Regions from separate parts of the Homo sapiens genome. Here region 1 is linked to region 2. The links are contacts of gene promoters, found by promoter capture Hi-C in blood cells and fetal thymus (Javierre and others, 2016). All regions are on one chromosome and are shown on one strand. The core of a region is centred on a gene start or on the middle of the fragment in contact, and the rest is flanking DNA. Distances in the headings are between cores, read along the strand shown.

Region 1 (4,074 bases), core at 583-3,082, 79 kb after region 2:
GAGTAAGGTTTTACAAAACGGCAAAACAGCATTCAAATTCAGGTCTGTTTTACTCCTGTACTCCAGCTCTTAACCACTTGTATTTCCTCTTTAAGTTCTTTCATAGGCACAAAAATGTTTCTGGTTGCTCAAGACAGAAAGAGGGCTCCATACTCCAGAGTTTATAAACTCTTGACCTCATCCAAGTCTCACAACCACTTCATGAGTTAGATGGAGTAGATGTCGTTATCCCCAGTTCAGTGACATGGAACCGACTTCTTTGGTCAATATCACACAACTGCTAAGTAATAGAGCTAATACTCCACCCCACATCTGCTGATTCAGAAATATTGCCTTGTTGAAGGAAGAGGCTATAGGGTTGTCCCCAGACAGGTGAGGCTAATGCCTATTGGAAAGACATCTACTGCAAGGTAAACTACATTTACTGTAATCCTGGAGATAGTTCAGAAGTCTGGAAGAACTGACCCTGTAGTGCTAAACCAAGGTTTAACCATTGCTCTAAGGTATTTAGATCTTAGGACTAAACAGGACACATTAATGAAGCAACATTTTCCCAGAGCTTTCTTTATGTCTGGCATCCAAAGCATTTATAGTCTTATAGAGAACACTGGACAGGACTCTAAGCCTTGCAAATAATTTATCAAATGTAAAATTATCTTCCTGTGTATGGAAGTTTCCTGAGCCTCCCTTAAATACCAAAAAGGCTTAGTGTTGTGATTTAATCACGATAGTACCTTTTCTCCTCCAATAAATTCACCCTACTTCCTCAAGTCATTATGAAACTAAACCTCTTGTGAGGTACCCCAAAATGTCTTATTTTCTGTTCATTCTGCCTGGAAGAATTTAATTGCCAAATTCACCATAGATGTAGTTTACTTTTCAAATTTTCATTTTCATTCTTATAATATTTGTCCAAATGTTTTGTTTTGTTTTTTTTTTTACCAGAGAGCTGCCTGAAACTGCATGTGTTGTGGAGTGAAAGTGCAGACATTCCAGCTGTATTGTCTAAAATCAGAACTTGAAATTCAGCTCCAGGGATGTGGGTGGGGTAGGGCAAGCATTGTTTGCTAAACCCTGTGTTGGGCTGGTCTGTACTGCCCGGCTCTGTGTGACTTTCCATGGGCGTGTCCTTGGGTGAGGACCTGTCCTTTTGTCCTCTCCTTTTAAGAATATCCTTTTTTGGAGGACAAAACATTTATCCTCCTTTCTGACTGGTTGTTTTTTTAACTTCATTTAGAACTTTAGTGATATCCTCCCACCACCCGCCCTCCCCGAAACCTCATCTACACGACCCCTTTTAAAGATGGCACAGTTAGATAATAGAGCTGCCTCCTGAACCAGGTCCAGGACAAGCACAAACTCAAAACAAGGGCCGCCTTCACGGGTGAAAGAGTACACCAGTGAAACCCAGGGTCGGAGTTTCACTCACTCTTAGTTACCCAGAAAAATTGCTGTAAGAAAACAAAATAAATGAAACACTATGGGTCCTTCTTTCCTTTTAGACTGGCTCAGGGCCATGGTGCTAGGCGACCCCTTATTTTAAAAGTTTCTAACTGGCCCAATTTCTAGTATTTTCACTAGTTCAAAGATAAAATCCAATGAAAAAAAATATTGAATAAAAATAATTTAATTCAAGCATAACTCATAGCCTCACTTCACTATATTTGTCCAAAGACGCAGACTCCTGAATGAATGATTTGGTCACACCCTCTGTGAGCATGAATTAGCACTTCAGCATCAGGTAAAATGGAAAGGAACCTTGGAGCTGTGGCAGCAGCAGTCAAACAAGACCTAAATTTTACCTGGTTTGGTAAAGTAACCTTTAAAATTCAAATGATGGTGGCAAAAAGCATATTCTTTTTTTCAGTGTATTCTCTACAACAGTTATGAGGGTAACTACAGCTTAGTGGATAGAGTTAGTGACATTGGAGTCAGACTGCTCTAAATGATACTGCCATTTACTAGCTGTATGTCCTTTGTGATAACTTAACTGAGACTCAGTTTCCTCTTCTGTACAGTGGGGAGAAAAAACATAATAACTACTCTATAAGATTGCTATCAGAATTAAATTTTTAAAGTGTATATATAGAGTACTTAGTAAAATGAGCATATAGTATATGTTCAATTACTGACAAAGTACTTGCCAAGAATATAAGTTCTTTTGCAAATATTATATGAATGCTTCAATAGTTGAAGTCGGCCGGGCGCGGTGGCTCACGCCTGTAATCCCAGCACTTCGGGAGGCCGAGACGGGCGGATCACAAGATCAGGAGATCGAGACCATCCTGGCTAACACGGTGAAACCCCGTCTCTACTAAAAATACAAAAAATTAGCCGGGCATGGTGGCAGGCTCCTGTAGTCCCAGCTACTCGGCAGGCTGAGGCAGGAGAATGGCGTGAACCCGGGAGGCAGAGCTTGCAGTGAGCCAAGATCGCACCACCGCACTCCAGCCTGGGCGACAGAGCAAGACTCCGTCTCACAAAAAAAAAAAAAAAAAAGTTGAAGTCATTCTTCTTATCCCCTCCCATTTTCTTCAGTGGAAATGTTGGTTTATGTGTCCATTCTAAGTAAACAACATAGTTCATGTTTCAACGTTGCCAAGAACTGTGGATATTGTCTGGTCAGGGACTCATTTGGAAACCATGAAAAAGTTCTTTGGAAACAACATATAATTGAAATTCAAAAAGAAACTCAATTAAAATCAGACCAGAACATTTTATAAGTCCTCAAAAACAAAAACATAATGGCTCAAATTAGCAATCTTGCTTATCATCTAATTTTTACATCATTCATTAAGTTTATAAAAACAAATTTTCAAAACGACAACAGTTTCCACTGTATTTACATGTCCACTTTAAAGCAAAGTTCTTTTTTGGCAAGATGGAGCGTCTGTTTTTTCCTATTGGATCTTTCCCAAGCAAGAAAGAATTTTGTGCAGATCTGAGTCACTTATTAAATTCCCAATTCTGCTCAAGGAGGAAATTTAGGTCAGTGGTTATGAGCCAAGACAGACCTGGTGTCTAAGGTCTTCCTTAAAATTAGGGAGACCTTGGATCTGTTACTTAATCTCTCTAAACTCATTTCCCTTCATTTCAGATGTACTGAAACTAGTATGTAAAGCATTTTAATAGTGTCTGGCACATAGTAAGCACTCTAAAAATGTTGGCTATCACTTCTCTATTCAAGATTGATTTCTTAGAACACAGAGGATATACCTTGATTTTAGGACCACCTATTTCAATTTGAGATCTGTATTACTAAGGAAATAGTTTTGGTTCAGTCCACAACATGGTTTTTAGTTAATTTGTTGAATAAACCCCAACTTGAGGAAGACTAGGCAATGGAAATTGTGTTTCTAGCCTGCCACACTTACTTGGGTACCCCTGGCTTGGAAGCTCATTAGAGCCTCAGAAAGAAAAAGAATTTATTAAATCAATTATTGCGCACAGATGAAAGGGCACATCACTTGCTAATTACAGCAGTGGCTAGCACTGATGCAGGCATCTCTTTTATTCTCCTTAGCTTATGGCCCCATTAGCAATTAACGGTGACTGATGTCCTGAAAGGAAGTGTTCTGTCTGCCCTGCTGGGTTTTCTCAGGAGGAATTAGAAATGAGATACTTGACAGAGTTTAGCCAGAAAAATAAAATAAAAAAAATTTAAAACTACAAGAAACCACCTGTTTTATTTGTGGATAAAATATACTTGCAAAAACCTTAAACAGCCTCAACACACTCATTGACTTCATTTATTAAGAATATTTTACTTTGCCTAATTTTGGAACATTATGAAATGTACCAGAAACTATTTTGTTCCATACTAAAAGTGCTTAAACACTTATCTCTTTAGTTAATATTCACAAGTTAACAGAATCACTTTTTTGGAGGGAAGGTCTCTTATAGAAATGAAATTCCAAACTGAGGAATTAAACTCCATTGAGTTTTTTCTCAACAAAAGAGGTTTCCCTTTTCCTCATTGTGTGCCCATCACAGTATACAGAAGCAATGCCATGGTCATTCTGGGAGTGAATCAAGATTAGAACCATACACCAGGGTATCTATACGAAAAGCAAG
Region 2 (4,012 bases), core at 1,022-3,521:
CAGTTTAAATGTTTGCTCTGCATGAGGAAGTGTTCTCTGCTTCCCTGCAATGGCATACTATCTTTTCTGAGTTTGTCACCCTACTCAGCACTGTCCTGGGCAATAATCACACAGCGTGTACACGTCTCTCCACTCATCAGTAAGCTCCCTGAGGATGGCAGACAATGCGTCTTTTCATTCTTTATGGAAATCTGCCTCATCTCACAGGGTAAAGACGTAAAACACATGTAATGCATACATTCTTTGGACCTAACAACTTAATCGAATCATTATAACAATAGTTAATATTTCAGGATTTTTCTAAAGTCTTTAAAATATAAAGTAAAAATAATATAAAGCACCATGCTCATAACATGAAAGTTTCTGGGGCGTGGGTAATGAAGATGAGAAAATATATTCTGAGGTTTCTGCTTTCAAAATGAGAGTTAAAGGTAGTATGAAAGTGGGTAATTTTTTTTTTTTTTTTTTTTTCCCTGAGACAAGGTATCTCTCTGTGGCCCAGGCTGGAGTGCAGTGGTGCCATTCATGGCTCACTGCAACCGCAACCTCCTGAGTTTAAGCGATCCTCCTCCCTCAGGCTCCCGCCTCAGCCTCCAAGTAACTGGGAATACATATGTGCACCACAACACCAGGCTACCTAATTAATTAATTAATTGATTGATTAATTTTTGAGACAGAGTCTTGCTTTGTTGCCCAGGCTGGAGTGCAGTGGCAATCTCGGTTCAATGCAACCTCCGCCTCCTGGGTTCAAGCAATTCCCTCCCTCAGCCTCCCGAGTAGCTGGGATTACAGGCGCCCACCACCACGCCCGGCTAATTTTTTTGTATTTTTAGTAGAGACGAGGTTTCACCATGTTGATCAGTGATCCTCGTGATCCACCTTGCCTCAGCCTCCCAAAGTGCTGGGATTACAGGCGTGAATCACCTCGCCCGGCCAATTTTTTATTTTTGTACTGTTTGGTCTTGCTATGTTGCCCATGATGATCTTGAACTCCTGGCCTCAAGGGATCCTCACGTCTGGGCCTCCCAGTGTGCTGGGATTACAGGCTGGGCCATTGTCCTGGGCCCAGAGTTAATTATTTTTAAATATGCATCTCACCTCACTGGCCTCAGCCACCCCGAAGCAAAAGCTTCCTGGAGAGTGACAGCCTCAACCCAATAGAGGGAGGAGAAAGGGCGTTCCTATTGCAGCTGCAAGCACTCAGGTGTCCCTGGTCCCCTTCCATGCACCTCATTAGTCAGGCGCACAGCAGGGTCTGTGTCACTGCCAAGGCGCCTCTCTCCTGTAGCATCCAGGGTTTTAACCACATTATGCATAGCTCCGGGGTTCGTCGGCACCTCTCTCCCTGCAGGTGAGACTGGTACACTTCAATAAACAGATCTCACTCAACTTAAGCAGAGAGCTGACAAACTTGGCGTTCCGTGCGGCAGAAGTAAGCAGCAATCGCTGAGTTTGTAGAACTTACACTTGGGGCCATTTCAAGGCCAATGTTCCCTTAAGAACCAAAACGCGAAACTGCTCTTCCAAGGGTCCTTTTCAACCAGAAGAAGCTGCTCCATCTGTCGTCCCTGCCCTGATTCAAGATGAGGCGGTCACTATCTAGAGGTCAGCTGGCTGACCCGGTCACCCTCCAGGTGTCCCCCCGAGATCGCCCCCTCCCATTCCCCACAAGTCCAGTTCGCTCACCAATCTTGGCCAGGGAGGCCAGCAGGATCCAAAGGGTGATCTCGAAGGGGATCTGCACGTGGGGGTAATCCAGCGTAAACACAGGCAGCCGGCTCTCCTCGAACAGCGTCGTTCCGGGAGCCACCACGCTCGCAGGGCTAGGCGGGCTGGAACTGGTGCCCATGGCCCTCGGCGCGTTCAGCAAGGTCTCCGCCAGGGCGCCCACGGGCCCCGCCACCTGCAGGAGCAGCAGCAACAGCATCGGAGGCAGTGGCGCCCGCAGGCTCCTCCAGTTGCCCAGTGGTTCCATGGGTGCCGCCGGTTGCCGCCAAGGGGACCGGCGGTTGGCCCTCCGAGCGCTCAACGCATCGCGCCCGGGCTGCTCAGCCCGCTCCGCCCTGCCCCGTGCAGGGCAGGGCAGCGACAGCCACCCGCCGCTGCTGCGGCACCGGGTCTCTGCAACCAGAGGGCTAGGTCCTCGCTGCGAGCAGGCGCACTGCCTGGCGAGGCACGTGCAGGGCGACGAGAGGCCGCTGCGCGTACCCTCAGCAGCCCTCAGCCGCCCTCCGCCGCCGGCCGCCTGCCCATGCCGGTGCGCTGCTCTCCAGCCGCAGCGGCAGGCCCTGCCCAGGGCGGCCCGCGGGCGGGGGCGGGGCGGGCGCGGCGCCCAAGCCGCAGGGCAGGAGGACAAGGGGACCTGGCCGGCACACCGCGCACCTGCCCGAGCCCGCGGGGAACGCGGGGCCCCAGTGACCGCGGGGGCGATGGCTGCCCTCCCTTCGCGCAGGCACCGCGCGCCAAGACCCGCCACCCCCAGAGCCAGCGAACTGTGGGTGGAATCGCCGCAACGGGCGCATGGTGGCCGGAGCTGTCTCCGCCCCGGAGGCAGCGTCGGACGTCCATCCAGTGAAGGAACCAGCGCGACCCACGAGTCGCGCCCTTCCCTCCTCCCCCGCCCCCGCAGGCTCCTCCAAGGGGACACCCCGGTGCGCTGGGCGCGCGGGGAGGCGCCACAGGCTCGCGGTCCGGAGGAGAAGCCCGGGCCGGTGGAGGAGGAGTGCTGTCACCCCAGCCTGGCGCTGCGGAGGCCAAGACAAGGCATGGGATTCTCTGGACGTACAGAAAGTTTAGGAAAGCCAAATTTTGTTTCCTTTCCGAGAGTTATCAACTCGCGCACAAGGTGCTCTGAACAGGGAAACTCCCTGCGCGGAACTCAGTGTTCCCACGCCCCCACGGAATCGGAATCCTGTTCTCTCCTCTTGCCACATTGTGCTGCTTTCACCCATTTGCTACACTGTCGCTGCCACTTTTCTTCTCCCTCCCCCAGCTCACGTAAAAAAAACCAAAACATCTTTCTCCGCTTTTAGGCTTAGAGGTGTACATGTCCAAGAGCATAAGAAATATAATTATTTCATGGAAAACCAGTGATTTGCCTCGCTCAGATTGACTTGCTCCGCTAATTACAGGACAGGCTGTGGTCAGGAAAAGAAAGGAAGCGTGATTCTTCTTCTGGATCTAAAAGGGCTTTCTCATGCAGAGCCAACCTTTCCTGTCCTTCAGAGCGCCTCCTTCACTGGTTGCGATCTCACTGTTTGAGCATCTTTATCGCCAGAAACCGAAATGAGCACAAAGGGGACTAGTTGCCATTCAATTAACTGAAAGTTTTCCCTTTGATATTTATGAAATAAAATCCTTCTCTTTTCTTAATCTTTGATGTGTCAAAACACGTGGCTTCTACTATTAAACAAACACCAGGCAGTTCGACCTTCAAAGCCGTTTTTTTTTTTTTTTTCTTTCAAAGTTCTAACATAGAAAATCAGTGAGATGTCAGCAGAGGGTACAAGAAAAAAAAATCCTCCACCTGCATAGAAGAAAATAAGGAACAGTCCTCTTTGGGTCTTCAAAGTAATGGAGGGACAAGTCCAGGCTAAAAAGAGAGAAGAATTCTGGGAGATGTTACAGAGCACTACTTCATTTGATATTTCACAAAGCATCAGTTTTTCAAAAGCGCTACAGAATTGAAACTAAAGATATTATCTTGAGAAGAATCATTGGGCATCCAAAACTCAGCCTCCCCTTCTCCTTTCACTGGAAACGTTTATTAAAGGTATGTGCCTAACATACCCCTGTGAAAAGGCAGCAAATAAGAGATTTTTAAATTTTTTGAGTATCTGTCTCTACATGGGAAGCTCAATACAAGGCACTTTACTTGCATTTTTTTGTCAATCGTAAAAATCCAAAGAGGCAGATATTTTTTACCCATTTTATAAGTGAAGAAATATAGTGTAGAAATGTGTAAAAATAAACAAATAGACTTAATCAAGTTTACATATTAAGTAAGTGTCTG

What was found. Contacts are between HindIII fragments. The CHiCAGO score rates a contact against its expected background, and 5 or more counts as called.
Region 1: a fragment that was not itself captured here is called in contact with the fragment with the promoter of SLC9A2 in region 2 in 1 of 17 cell types (M2 macrophages); the score reaches 6.0 in M2 macrophages.

The regions. Positions count from the first base shown.
Region 1 is chr2:102,538,084-102,542,157 of GRCh38, reverse strand. No RefSeq gene overlaps it. Among named protein-coding and RNA genes, the nearest start is that of SLC9A4, 67 kb to the right of the region's middle. The HindIII fragment of the contact is 5,272 bases long and covers 1-4,074 here.
Region 2 is chr2:102,617,812-102,621,823 of GRCh38, reverse strand. It overlaps SLC9A2 (solute carrier family 9 member A2), which reads right to left and starts at 2,271. Exons shown (of 12, transcript NM_003048.6): 1 at 1,687-2,271. The coding sequence starts at 1,975. RefSeq lists a silencer at 2,554-2,663. The HindIII fragment of the contact is 5,203 bases long and covers 1,132-4,012 here.